Linked DNA regions of Homo sapiens: region 2 is linked to region 1. The links are contacts of gene promoters, found by promoter capture Hi-C in blood cells and fetal thymus (Javierre and others, 2016). All regions are on one chromosome and are shown on one strand. The core of a region is centred on a gene start or on the middle of the fragment in contact, and the rest is flanking DNA. Distances in the headings are between cores, read along the strand shown.

Region 1 (7,214 bases), core at 2,007-4,506:
TCTAATGATGCAAAGATCATTAGAAATGATCCCTGCTAGGCCGGGCACAGTGGCTCATGCCTCTAATCCCAGCACTTTGGGAGGCCCAGGCGGGTGGATCACCTGAGGTGAGGAGTTCGAGACCAGCCTGGCCAACATGGATGGTGAAACCACGTTTCTACTAAAAATATAAAAAAGTAGCTGGGCGTGGCGACGGGCACCTGTAATCGCAGCTACTCAGGAGGCTGAGGCACAAGAATCACTTGAACCCGGGAGGCGGAGGTTGCAGTGAGCCAAGACCGCACCACTGCACTCCAGCCTGGGCAACAACAGCAAAACTCCATCGCAAAAAAAAAAAAAAAATCCCTGTTAAATTCCTGCTAAAAGCCAAGGATATTTTGAGTAGTAAGTCTTGAACTTTACAGTTTTAAAATGAGCACCTACATAAAAAACTTTTAAACTTTATTGTTAAGCAGTTTTCCCAACCACTAAAAAAAGAAAATTCACATCATGCATAAGTTAACACCTAAACAGAAGAGATAAACTATATTTCCTGCGTAGACCAGTCTCTCACATTCTGAATGTGCTCAGGCTGGGCCTTCTAGGTGAAATACGGACACTCACAAGAACAGCAAAAACGCATCCATGTGTCAAAATTAAACTTTAACTTAAAGCTCTTATGCAACCTAACTAAAAGATTTAATCTTTCAAACTACATGCACATGTTTTAAACAGTTAATGTGTTATGAAACACATTAAGAAGAAAAAGCTATTAAAAAAATGAAATTGTTAAAAATGCTACAATTTCTTTCTACTTTCTAAGCACTGATCCTCCACTGCCTGAATTTAGCACTTTTCCAAGAAAACAGGCCCCCTGCACAGGAAACCTAAATTATATTATCCTTATCACCATAAAACCTAACAATACCAACTGGGATAGTCAAAGCTTCAAAGTTTTATGGAATTCAATGCTTTCAAAAATAACTGGTATCAGCCATAAACAGGAATGAAGTATCAATACATGTTACAACACAGATGAACTTTAAGCATTATGCTACGTGAAAGCTGATGCAAATGGCCATATGTTGTACAATTCCATCTACATGAAATGTCCACAATAGGCAAATCTATGCGGACAGAACATGGATTAGTAGTTGCCAGGGGCTGGAGGGAGAAAAGTAAGGCGACTAACTTCTAATGAGGACCGGGTTTCCTTTTTGGGTGATGAAAATCCAGAAGGAGACGGTGGTGGTGGTGGCAGAGCCTTGTGTATACACTAGGAAGCACTGAATTGTACACCTTAACCTGATGAATTTAACGGTCTGTGAATTAAACCTTCACATTCAAAAACCGTAATAGTAAAAAATAGGCTGAGTGCAAATACCCCAACAATCTACTTTGGACCCTAGCAAAGCTGAGTTCTATTCGGTCTCAGGTTGGTGTCCTTTTCTTTGGGTTAAGACCTATTTTTTGAACCAGGAAGGAAGCCAAGTAGGTACATTTGGTTCCTCAGACCCGTAGAAGTAGCTTTAAGAGCTTGTCTTTCTCTAGTTGACTTTTAATCCCAATGGCAGAAGCTGAAACGTTTTTCGTATATTTTAATTGCACTTGGCACCTGTACATCTCTTTCCTCCTCCCTGTGCCCTTGACAGAGCTACCTGTTAGGTGGTGACGAGCAAAGCTAACTCTTAGTGGAGGGACACCGAGTACCAGAGAAATTCTCCCAGCCTAGAAGGCGGGAAGAGCACACTACACACCATTTCTCTAAATTCTCTGAACACTCAAGCCCCAAGCAGCATATGTACAATACCTTTAACACATCTCTTGGCTGACTTCTTGCTGGTGGCTTCTAACTCGATGCCAATTTCATCAGGATCTTGCCCCTCTTCTTTAACCGCCTATTAGGGAGAGATGAGTTTTACAACATCATTAAGAGCTGCAGGGCACACACTGTTCCTTACAAGTAACAACCTCCCATGAAACAAAGGCAAACCCGTCCTTGCAAAGAGCAACTCCGGGTCAGCTATCTGGGCCGCAAGCCCAAAAGGCGGAGGAGGAACCCCGCACAACTTGGGTCTCTCTGGGTCCAAATGACAAAGGAGAGGGAGGCTGTGAGCAGGAGCTCCAGAATTGGGGTCAAGGACCAGTTCCAAAATGGCAACTCAACTCGACAATGCCAAACCTTCGACTTTAAAGTTATATGATGGGACAAATTAGAACAGAGAGGCTGCACTTGGCCCGGCCTCGGTGAAGGGCTGGCCACCGCTGGTGAGGAGGAACAGCAGCCAGCCTGGGGAGATTCAACAGGTCCCTCAGTGCCTGCCACCTGCCGGGTCCAGGACTGGGTACCCACAAGCTCCCTCCCTATGCTCAAGTTGTTTGTTCCAGTTGCGGAAACAGACAATTCCCAACCCCTTAATATTTTGCATTTAGCCCCTGCTTTCAGCGAGGTGCGACACAAACGCAGGATGAGCTGGCAAGGAGGTGGGGCAGCGCATTAGGAAGGGCGCTCAGGAAGGTGATGTCTCAGGCAGACCCAAAATGACAACAAGGGGCCGGCCACGAGAAGATCTGGGGGACCCGGGTGGACAGCTTCGTAAAGGCCAAAGCCCTGGGGCAAGAACAAGCACCGCCCCCTTTCCTGTAAATGCTCTGGAGTCCGCCAGACACCCATTCTCCGGAGGAGGAAACTGAGGCACAGAGAGAAAGGCACCTGCCCAAGGTCACAGAGCCAAGGCTCGATCGGGAGCCCCAGGAGGGGTCCCGGGGCCACCCTGGTAGCGGAGAAGACCGCACGCTGAGCGCGCTTGAGGAGAAAAGGTGGAAAGAGGATAGGAAGGGAGGCACAGAGAGGAGCGGTGACGGGCCAAGGTCACACAGCCGGCCCCCTGGGTGCCCGACACCTCGAACCGGGGTCGGCCAAGACGCGGGGCGAACCCAGGGCGCCCCGGGTCCGGGAGCCGCGGTGACAGGTGCAGGCGGGGGCGTGCCCGGGCCTCCTGCGCCACCCCCGAGCCCCGCGCCGCCTCACCTTCTTGAGCCGCTCCATCAGGACGCTCTTGTTGCCGCCCGTGTCCAGGTTCCGCTTCTTCAGCTCCGCCCGCAGATCGATCACCCGCAGCTCGCTGAGCCGCCTCGTCCCAGTCTCCGCAACGCCCGGGCCGAGAGAAGCCGTGCCAGGGCCCGAGTCGCCCGACCCGGGCAGAGTCTCCGCCATCGTCGCGTTCCCGTCTTCGCCACCGACTCAGTCGCACACCGCCGGCAGCTATAGCGGCTCTGAACACAAAATGGCGCCGCCTAAGAGGAAAACGCACTCGTTTCCTCCCGCCCCGCTTTGCGGCCGCGCACGCGCACGCGCACCGCCCCCACTAGCGTACTTAGCAGCAAGGACGCTCGCGCGTCCACCAACCGCGGGTTCCCCGGCACAACGCGCAAGCGCTGAATCTGCAGCTCGCATGCGTCCCGGCAGTTCCCGGCGGGAGGCTGACGAGACGCAACGCGTCTGCGCACATCCCCGCGTTGTTCTCACTGCGCATGTGCAGTTGCAACCGGGATACTAGAACCTACGCTTGGTGCGCCTGCGCAGAAGCGAGGCGCGCTGGGGCGACTGGAGCGGTTCCCTCGCAGGCGGCGCCATTTTGTGCTAGGAGCCTGATAAAACCGGCCCGGTTCTGTGGAAAGTGGGCGGCGGAGCCAGGGTCCCTGGAATGGCGGAGACTCTGTCAGGCCTAGGTGATTCTGGAGCGGCGGGCGCGGCGGCTCTGAGCTCCGCCTCGTCAGAGACCGGGACGCGGCGCCTCAGCGACCTGCGAGTGATCGATCTGCGGGCGGAGCTGAGGAAACGGAATGTGGACTCGAGCGGCAACAAGAGCGTTTTGATGGAGCGGCTGAAGAAGGTGGATTTGGGGCCCCGAGGGCGGGCACAGGGTGGGTCTGGGGTCCTCTTGGCCGCGACGGTGGCTCGCGGGCCCTGGCGTCCGCCCCCGGCCGCGTTCGCGGCCTCGCCGGACCTGGCGCTCTCGCGTCCCCCGGCTCCTCCGAGGCCCCGGAGAGAGTTCCTTGGCCGGCTGGGCCTGGGTTCAAATCCTAACGCCGCAATGGGGCCAGGAGAACCACAAAAACGGCACGCGTGCAGGAGAAACGGTGACGGGTGACATCGTCCACTGAGAGGAGGGTTCTCCCCTCGTCTCGTCCCCTCCTCCGTACCTGGAGGGGAGACCCTGAAACCCTCACTTCCCAGGCGAGGGGAAGGGACTCGGCCAAGGTCACACGGCCGAGGACGGGCAGCGTCGGGATTTGAACCCAGGCCCTGGGATTCCTGATTCGGCTGCTTGGTTTCCCCAGGGAAGATGCTTTGTGACCCACAGGGGACCGACCAGCCTGAATCGGGGCTGATTTACAAAGGAAACACCCGTAGGACATACTCAAAGGGAAAAATAGAAAAAAACCCACCACAATCCAGTTTTCACGGTTTGCCGGTACTCGCTCGGTGAAGTAACGTGGCAGGAAGGAAAAGTGGTGTTGACGGTAGTGATCAGAAATGTGAAATGAGGGGAGACCCCGGGTGGACTTTAAAACCAGCCTCAGAACTGCCCGGGAGGCGGGCAGAGCCTGGGCTCCCCCAGCTCCGTCAGTCTCTCTGGACTTGGGGACCCTGCCAGCTCTCGGTGGCCTGATCTTGGGCATAGGAGACCTTGAACCCCTTCTGAGTCCTCTTTTCTATTCTTTTTTTTTTTTTTTCTCCTGTAAGAAGCAAAAAAGCAATAGGACTTTGATTTGGGGATTAAATAAGTTTGCGTGGAGCAGGCTTGGCGTGCTGCCTGGCGCATGTAAACACTCGGTGTGTGGTTGCCATCACGATTCGCTTTTCCTCTCTGTGCCACCACGAGTCCTCATTTGCAGATCGGGGGCTCTAACGCCTCCCTTGGGGGATTCAAAGGGATCCCTAGGAAAAGCAGAGAGGCAAGTAAAGGTTAGCCACCTGCGGTTTCCTTATTCCTGTAGCTTTTTTTCTCTGCCTTTTTTCCACCTGGCTACTCTGGGACCTCTCCCCTGTAGTTGCTCCGCCTGGCCGCCCACCCCCCAGCCCCTGCAGGCAGTGGGGCTGTTGACACATCCCACCATCCTGACTCCGGAACTACGGAGATCACAGGGCTTTATTATTAATTGGTGATGAGAAGAAGTAGGGATTTTTTTTTTTTTTTTTTTCCTGATGAGAAACCCTGGGCTCAAGGGTGGATAGTTGTCTCGGCCAGAGTCACATGGGCCTTTTAAAAGCTCAAGCTTGTGTTTCTTTTCACTATGGATTCTCTTTACTCAGATAAGGCAGGAAGCCCACTGATCTACATATTTACCCAGAGAAAATGCAGAGAGTGGAGATTGGCGGCTGGTCAGGTGTGGTGCCCCGCCACCAGGGCCTCCCATCAGCTAAGCCAAATTAAGAGGCTTTATCCTTTTTTTCTCCCTGGACGGTCCATAGGCCTGAAAAGCTGCTGTGATCTTCCTGTCAAGCTGGTGACTGAGACTTCCCATCACTCGCTGTCATCTCTGAGAGCACAGATTTGTTCCTTCTTCCTTCTCCTTTTCATTTTCTTCAAGATGTGGTCCCAAAACACGAATACCGCCAGCCCATATCCCTGTCTGCCACTCACCCAAGCCAGTCTGGAGTTCCTGATCTCATTCTCTTCCCGTTTCTGTCATCCTGTTGGTGTCCCTTTCTTGGTTTATTTTTCCAGGAAGGGCAAAAGAACAAAAAGGGGAAACAGGACACCTGCCTAGGGCATTGCTTCTCTTCTCCTGGTGGTGTTTCAGAATTGCCTGTCCCCGGGAAAAGGGTGAGGGACTTGGTGATTGTACTTTTCCTTGATCCCAGGAAAGAACTTCAGTCCCTTTTCTGGCTTCTGAGAGGAGAGATTTTTGTTGCTGCTGGTAAAGATGAGATGTGGAACCCCCAGGCCCTATCTCAATTCAGACTTACCCACCTGGGAAACTTGGAGGCTTCCAAACCTCTGCAGATAAAACATAGTACATGAAATGATGTAAACAAAACTTGTGCTCATGGGACTGGAGAGTAAAGACTGGAAAAGTTATCAGTAAAACTTGACCTGAAGCTAAGTTTCTAGGGACGTCATCGTGATTGACGTGTTCGGTACTGATGGCTTAGTTGATGCCAGGCACTGTGCTGAGGATGGGCATAGTTGAAGTGAGTGACAGAGTCCTGGGGTGGGAGGCTGGGCGTGCCAAGAAATTCTTATAATTCAATATCCGATGAGGCACAATCACCTAGTGGTTGAGAATGAGGTACTGGAGTCGGTTGTGAATGTACATGATGGGGATCGGATGAGGTCATGCATGTCGTGACGGGTCTCGTGCGTAACACATAGTAGGATCCCAGTCAGCGAGCATTAGTATTCTGTCCACACAGTACTGAGTACAGGCACGGCGTGGAGGGAGTCCCTGGAGGGTTAAAGAGTATTTTGTGAGTAAAGTCAGGGGAAATGGAGAGTGTGCCTTTCCCTTTTTGAGTTCTTCTGGGCTTAGGAAGGAGATGAACCAGATAAGCCTACTGTTTGTTGAGTGCTTCCTTTTCATGGCTAGTAGAGTCCTCACAACAGCCTTCCAGGGTAAGTACTGTATTATTATTAGCCGCATGTTCCAGAGGAAGAAGCAAAAACTGAGCACCTAAGTAAACCTGCCTGGGACCACCCAGCTAAGAACTGGTGGCGTCAGTCGGTCTCCAGTGTAGAGCGAGATAACAGATGAGTGGATGGGCCACAGGTCCTGGGTGGTGAGGGCGGCAGCAGCTTTTTGATCTTAAAAATACAGTTTCCTTGTCACCTGAGAGCTCTCTGAAAGCAGTGTGTGAGCTGACTTTTTGGATCAACTTTACTTTTCCCTTCTTTTTAGGCAATTGAAGATGAAGGTGGTAATCCTGACGAAATTGAAATTACCTCCGAGGGAAACAAGAAAACATCAAAGAGGTCTAGCAAAGGTATGGAGGATTTCATAAGCAAGTTTCATGTTAAGTGCTTTCTTCAAAACGAATACATTGCTAATGTGCCTCGTTTACTTGTCTGTGTGTTGGACTTGTGAACCACTCTGAACTGGGAGCCTTCAGCGAAGCTTTGCATTTTCTTTCAAGATCTCTCTACTGTGTTTTGTTTTCTTGGTATCTGGGAATTCCAATGGAGGATGGAAGGAGTATTTGTCCTTTATTCATTTTCCTCTGTAGATTG
Region 2 (7,214 bases), core at 3,333-5,832, 1.2 Mb before region 1:
CATATACACATAAAATGTTTATGGTGGATCTAGCTCCCCCCTAAAAAAGAAGCCCAGATACTGAAAGACACTCGAATTTTCCTAAAGACTTGAGGGTGGGCTCGACCTTAGGGTCTGGATGCTGAGTTTTATGTAAATATCTACCTGTGGGGCGGGGTGCCATGGCTCATGCCTGTAATCTCAGCACTTTGGGAGACTGAGGCAGGTAGATCACCCGAGGTCAAGAGTTCGAGACCAGCCTGGCCAACATGGTGAAACCCCGTCTCTACTAAAAATACAAAAAAATTAGCGGGGCATGGTGGTGGGTGCCTGTAATCGCAGCTACTCGGGAGGCTGAGGCAGGAGAATTGCTTGAACAGAGGAGGCGGAGGTTGCAGTGAGCCGAGATCGTGCCATTGTACTCCAGCCTGGGCAACAAGAGAGAAGCTCCGTCTCAAAAACAAACAAACAAACAAAAACAAACTACACATGTGGCTATCTGTGTTTAGCAAACTAGGAAAATCTTTGTTTTATTTTATATTTTACTTTTTTTTTTTTTGAGACGAAGTCTCGCTCTCATCCACCAGGCTGGAGTGCTTCCCAAACTGCTGGGATTAAAGGCGTGAGCCACCACACCTGGCCAAACTAGGAAAATCGTAAGAATGGCTCAGTGGGGATTTTTTTGTTCCTTTGTTTTGGTATAATTATCCTCATTTTTTTTCCAAATCTTCAAGCAGGGTTTCTCAAATTTTGGTACTATTGACATTTGGGGCCAGGTAATTCTTGGGGGCAGTGGGGAGATGCTGCCCTGGGCACCGGAGGATGTCCAGCAATATCGTCTACCTACTAGTAGCCAGCAGCACCGCACCAAGCTGTGACAACCAAAAAGGTCCCAGACATTGTCAATGTCCCCTGGAGGACAGAACTGGCCCTGTTTTACAGGAAGATAAATGTCCCCTAATCCTTTTGTGTAAAAGGGGGAATGTTTTTTACCCTTAGACCGGATAAGCAAGACCAGCTGAGACCTACTGGTATAAAGCATACTGCCTGCTCACATGGTGAGAACTCAATAAATGTTTGTATCACTACGTAATGAGAGATCCCGAGAGATGTCACTTTCCAACAGGCACAGCAGAGGGTGAAAGAGTTGTTATTAGACTAAAAACAAAAAAAGAGACACAAATAGTCGGATACGTCCAGATAACAGCTGAGATGTCAGAGGGAACCATGGCAATGATCACAGAAGAGCATGGAACGCAGCCAGGGTGACTTCTAAGAGCACGACTCAGGACAGAATTGACCAGGAGGCCAAGACGACAGCCCCGAGGGTGGGCTGTGGCCATTGTGCTTTGGGACTAGGCCTCGGGATGTGGAAATAGGCAATCCTAAGCCCAGCTAACACCACACTGTCCTTTCCAGGCTTCAAGGCGCCATTCACAGATCTGAACGCAGGTCATCCTGCTTCCCTTGAGAGAGACAAAGTCCTGGTGGCCGGCACAAGAGGCCTGGTTCATTCCTCTAAAGAGGGTGTCAGCTCAGGACAATATGGGCACAGGCCCTGATCGCTGGGAGTGGGGGTGGTGGCTTCCAGAGACCTGTCTATAGCAGGGAACAAAGTGGCCCAGGAATTCCTCCAAGACCTCTGAGGACATCTTTCCTGCTAGGGAGCAGTACTCTATGGTGCTCTAACCAAGCAGGTGAAGGTCTGACGCCTGCTGGGCAAGGTCTAACCCAGGGCCAGGCCATCTGATTTCAAAGTGCTGGGGCAAGGGGGTGGGACTGTTCTCAGTGACAACTCTAAAATTCGTCTGGATTAAATCTTTCTCCAGGGTTTAACCATCATCTGGGGTGTAGAGATAGACCCTAAGTATCTATATCCCTAAACAACCACTAGGGTTGTTACTTTTTTTATTTATTTTTTGAGACAGGGTCTCACTTTGCTGCCCAGGCTGAAGTGCAGTGGCACGATCATAGTTCACTGCAGCCTTGAACTGCTGGGCTCAAGTGGTCCTCCTGCCTCAGCCTCCCAAGTAGCTGGGACTGCAGGTGCACATCACCACACCTGGCTAACTTTTTCATATTTTGTAGAGATGGGATCTCCCTATATCGCCCAGGCTGGTCTTGAACTCCTGAACTCAAGGGAACCCCTGCCTCAGCCTTCAAAGTGCTGGGATTACAGGCATGAGCCACAGCACCTGGCAGGGTCCTTACTTTTTTCTTTCCAGGGGCAAAGGTACCTGCTGGGTGTTACTGGGGACTCGTTTCTCTTTGCTCCCACTGGGCATCTCCGAACTGTGGGCAGAGAACCCTGTTTGCCACCTTGGCCCAAGCATTTGCTAAGATCATTGCTCATTCCTCGGTGGACTCTATCTACACAAATTCCACACAACCTCACCCTGCAGTACACGGACCAATAGGATTCAACAATCTGAGGCTTCTTGTCTTTTTTTTTTTTTCAAGACGGAGTCTCGCTCTGTCACCCAGGCTGGAGTGCAGTGGTGCAATCTCGGCTCACTGCAACCTCTGCCTGCCGGATTCAAGAGATTCTCCTGTCTCACCCTCCTTAGTAGCTGGGGTTACAGGCAAAAATACAAAATTTTTGTATTGTTAGTAGAGATGGGGTTTTGCCATGTTGCCCAGGCTGCTCTCAAACTCCTGGCTTCAAGTGATCCGCCCGCCTCGGCCTCCCAAACTGCTGGGATTCCAGGCATGAGCCACCGCGCCCGGCCAAATTTGAGGCTTCTTGCATTCGAAATTGCAAAGTGAAAATTTTAAATGTGCCCAGTTTTCTGGAGAGTGGATCCACAGCTTTCACCAGATTCATGAGCAGTGGGCCCTGGAGTTTCCAAAAAAAACCCTTTATCTGTCCATATCAAATGCACTTAGGCTGGGATGCAGCATTCTACTTCTGGGAATTCATCCTATAAAACTAATCCCACTGGTGAGCAAAGATATTCACTGGCTATTTATTGTAGTAATGGTAACAGAAAATTCCGGTAAACAATAGAGATATCTATCAACTGACAACTGGTTAAATAAATTATGGTATATGTCATGGAATGAAATACAATGTACCCATTAAAAAGAGCCAAGTAGGCCAGGCAGGTGGCTTACGTCGATAATCCCAGCATGTTGGGAAGCCGAAGCAGGCGGATTACTTGAGGCCAGGAGTTCGAGACCACCCTGGGGCACATGGAGAAACCCTGTCTCTGCTAAAATTACAAAAAGTAGCCGGGCGTGGTGGCGCATGCCTGTAGTCCCAGCTACTGGGGAGGCTGAGGCAGGAGAATTGCTTGAACACAGGAGGCGGAGCTTGCAGTGAGCCGAGATTGCACCACTGCCCTCCAGCTGGGGCGACAGAGCATGACTCCCTCTCAAAAAAAAAAAAAAAAAAAAAAATCCAAGAAGTGTGGAGTATGGTCTAGAGCAGTAGTCCTGGGGGACAGGAAAGGAAGGGAGGAAGGAAAGAAGAGAAGGGAGGGAGGGAGAGAGGCAAGGAGGGAGGGAGGAAGGAAGGAAAGAAGGAAGGAAGGAACGAAGGGAGGGAAGGAGGACTGATTCTAAGGGGACACACGGTGATGTCTCAAGATATTTTTGGTTGTCACGACTTGGGGGTGCTCCTGGCCCGGAGTGGGTGGAGGCCAGGGGCGCTGCTCAGCACCCCGCAGTGCCCAGGACGGCCCCACCACGGAGAACAATCCAGCCCCAGATGTCAACAGTGCCGACGGAGGGGGAGAAATCCCGCTCCAGTGTGATCTCCAAGCAATGAAAAACACAGCACACAGGATTCTGTGGCATATGCTATCACAGGGTACGTGTTTTTAAAGGAAAGGCACACACGTATCTTAGGAAAGGGACATACGGAGTCGATGACAGTCGCTTGTCTCTGGGGAGAAGGGCTGGCTGCCCGAGGAGCAGAGAGGGGAAACTGACTTCTTCCTCTACCTTTTCAACTTTGTACCTTGCCCATCCAGAGGATTTTGAACGTAACTGCTCTAGACGCAACTTTTCCCTGGCTCTGGGTTATCTGGCAAGAGTCCTGTGTCGACAGCCTCGGGACTCCTCTCTTCCCCTTCTCTCCCCGCACCCCGCCTTTGCAGCGGAGAGAAGGAGGGGAGAGGTCCGCGTCCCTGGGCAGCCCAGGGTGCCTCTCCCCTCCTCCCAGGGGCTCTGTCCCCGCTTCTGGAGCCCGCATGGCGGGCAGGGCCTGGGCCACCTCGTCGCCCCCGTCCGTCCCTTGGTCTTCCCACCTGGCAGGGGACACGCGCCAACGTCCCCACCTCGGTCCCCCCGGCCCCCTCCCGGGCCAGGTCGGGCCTGGCTCCCTCATCCGGGCAGCCCGGGGCCCGGTACTCGGCTCCCGCCTGGGCCTGCGCTCACCTGGCTCGCCTTGTAGAACTGCTTCTTCAGCCCCGCCACCGACATGCTGCCGCCCGCCGCCGAGCCTCCCGCCCGGACCGCGCCAGCGACAGGCTCCCGGGCGCCGCCGACCCTCTGCGCGCCTCAGCAGTCCCCGTCGGCGCCGCCTCCGCCACCCGCTTGCCAGCTCCGCGCCCGCCCCGGCGCCGCCTCAGCCGCTCGCGCGCCCGCGCGGCCAGGATATTACATGGCAACCGCACGCTTCCGGTGCCGGCCCCCGCGCGCGCCCCCGGCCCCCGCGCGCGCCCCCGGCCCCGTCTGCGCACGCGCGCCCTCTGCCGGCTGAAGAGCGCACGTGCACATTGTCTACCGCGGGAGAGGCCGCCTCTGTCAGTGAGTTGAGCGGGGCGAGCCTAGAGGGGCCGTAGCAGTTGCAGCGCCCCCTGGAGTCGTGGAGGTGACCCTAACGTCTTGGAAAACGCGCTTAGTTTAAACCTGGCCAGGGAGGTTGGGAAGTAGAAGGGGCCCCTGCTTACGATTCTTCAGATTCCTGTTTACTCATCTTAGCTAAATCCAGTTCGTCTAAGTGTTCAGCCCCCTCCCATTTTTATTTATTTATTTATTTTTTTTTTGAGACGGAGTCTTGCTTTGTCTCCCAGGCTGGAGTGCAGTGGCGTGATCTCGGCTCACTGCAACCTCCGCCTCCCGGGTTCAAGCGATTCTCCTGCCTCAGCCTCCCAAGTAGCTGAGATTACAGGCGCGCACCACCATGCTAGGCTAATTTTTGTATTTTTAGTAGAGACAGTGTTTCGCCATGTTGGCCAGGCTGGTCTCGAACTCCTGACCTCAGGTGATCCAACCCCCAACCCCCCCACCAAATCCAGCCTCCCAAAGTACTGGTCTCACAGGTATGAGCCACCGTGCCCGGCCACCTCTCTTCCTCTCTCTCTCTGTCCTGTGTTCATCCATTCAGTTGCCCACGTGACACATCTAGACATCTAGGTCTGTCTTCATGCCTTGACCATACTTTCCACCAGTCCTCCCCTCCAATTCTTCCTTGTCATGGCAGCCAGAAAGATGCTTCTAGAATGCAATTCAGGGCCAGGGGCGGTGGCTCACGCCTGTAATCCCAGCACTTTGGGAGGCCTAGGTGGGCGGATCACGAGGTCAGGAGATTGAGACCATCCTGGCTAACACGGTGAAACCCTGTCTCTACTAAAAAATAGAAAAAATTAGCCGGACGTGGTGGCGGGCGCCTGTGGTCCCAGCTACTAGGGACTCCGTCTCAAGAAAAAAGAAAGAAAGAAAGGAAGGAAGGAAGGAAGGAAGGAAGGAAGGAAGGAAGAAAGAAAGAAAGAAAACCTGTTTCTACACTCACAGGCTGACACTGAAGTTCTCTGTTTTGTGTGAGGCTTTTAATCTGCTTGATCTACACAGTTCAATCAAATATTTATACATTCACTCAAACATTTATTGACCTGGTAAATATGATCAGTTACTAACAGGTCCTGGGGTTCCAGTGAGGAATGAGTCCTACCCTCGCCAGAACTAATGACAAAAGGCAGAAATTAATTCATTAGTCAAATAACAAACTAATAAATAGACACAGCTGTAATTGCTTTAAGGAAAAGAACAGTGTTGTAGGCACTTGATATTGTCAGGGTTGGGGAAGAAAAGGCTTCCTGGGGTGACGATCTAAGATCTGAAAAGTATAAATTAGCCAGGAAAAGAGCTGCGAAAAGATTGTTCTAGGCAGAGAAAACAGCATGTGCCAATTTCCTGAGGATTAAACCAGAAACGATCCATTTCGTCCATTTCGTTCACTCATTCTACATGTTATTTACTGAATGTCAAATACTTCCGAAGCGCTCCCCAGACTTCGTTTTATTGTTCTTGTAGAAAGCAATTTATAATTTTAATTGCTGTTGCTATATTTAGCCGATGTCCCATTAGGATAAACTCAAAACTCCAGGTTCCTCATCTAAATCCCACTTTCAAGTTGTCATCTGCGCCTTGCGTAAAATGTTCTGGTGACGTAAGAGCCTGGGCCTCCCTCCTCTTAGGGACTATCCCACGCGATCAGCCAGTCGCAGCGCAGAGCAATGAGCTTGACACCTCCTTCCTCCAATCGCAGGGCAGCTCCTCCCAGCCAATGACAGGCCTCCGAGGGGAAGCCCAGTCCCTCGCGGATATGTCAATGGGCGAGCCCTGGGAGGAATGGAAGTCACGGATCTCGCGAGGATGCCCCCGGCGCCCCTCAATTCCCGAGGCGGGCCGTCACGTGACCCGGGCTCGCCCAATTGGCGCGCGGACTGCGGGGGTCGCCGCGGTTCCCGCCAAATACGAGCGCGGCGGCCGCGGCGGCAGCAGCGGCGCGGGCGGGAGGGCGAAGAGCAGCGGCCGCCTGAGGGGAGCCCGCGCCTCCGCCGCCTGAGAGGAGGTCGAGCTGCCGCCGGGGCGATGCTGGAGGAGCTGGAGTGCGGGGCGCCCGGCGCCAGGGGAGCCGCCACAGGTCGGTTCGGGCCCGCGCCGAGGGGAAGGGGGGGCGCGGCGCGCGGCCTGGACGGGCCGAGGCGGCGATGGGAGGCGGACGGGCCTCCGGGCGCCAAGCCTGGTCCTGCGGGCCGGGCGTTCACCCCCTGGGGCCTTCTCATCCCCAGCGAGGGCCTGGCGTCCCCAAGGGCACCCTTGTTGACGTTATTGTTGTAGCCGCGACCATATTGTTTGTTTCCGGCGCTTTTGCGTCAGTTCGTCCCTCCAGGACTCTCTGGGGCGGTGGGTCGGAGGGGCCGAGAGGGGAAACTGAGGCCCAGGGAAGCGAAAGGGCTTGCCCTGCAGGTTACTGGATGCGTTTGTGTCCCTTGACCATGTTGGAC

The links. The method cuts DNA at HindIII sites, captures the fragments that hold promoters and counts their contacts. A CHiCAGO score of 5 or more calls a contact.
Region 2: the fragment with the promoter of SH3GL1 here is called in contact with the fragment with the promoter of SAFB2 in region 1 in 2 of 17 cell types (neutrophils and fetal thymus); the score reaches 6.1 in neutrophils.

What each region holds. Positions count from the first base shown.
Region 1 is chr19:5,619,520-5,626,733 of GRCh38, forward strand. SAFB2 (scaffold attachment factor B2) reads right to left here and starts at 3,257. Exons shown (of 21, transcript NM_014649.3): 1 at 3,011-3,257; 2 at 1,790-1,877. The coding sequence starts at 3,196. SAFB (scaffold attachment factor B) reads left to right here and starts at 3,564. Exons shown (of 21, transcript NM_001201338.2): 1 at 3,564-3,875; 2 at 6,886-6,970. The coding sequence starts at 3,687. RefSeq lists silencers at 1,657-1,877, 2,882-3,001, 3,972-4,021 and enhancers at 1,796-2,528, 3,002-3,341, 3,262-3,994, 3,995-4,726. The HindIII fragment of the contact is 4,337 bases long and covers 924-5,260 here.
Region 2 is chr19:4,395,965-4,403,178 of GRCh38, forward strand. It overlaps SH3GL1 (SH3 domain containing GRB2 like 1, endophilin A2), which reads right to left and starts at 4,583. Exons shown (of 10, transcript NM_003025.4): 1 at 4,360-4,583. The coding sequence starts at 4,404. It overlaps CHAF1A (chromatin assembly factor 1 subunit A), which reads left to right and starts at 6,676. Exons shown (of 15, transcript NM_005483.3): 1 at 6,676-6,850. The coding sequence starts at 6,799. RefSeq lists enhancers at 3,944-4,773, 6,436-7,133, 7,134-7,214 and silencers at 4,062-4,111, 4,172-4,681, 6,644-6,923. The HindIII fragment of the contact is 26,532 bases long and covers 1-7,214 here.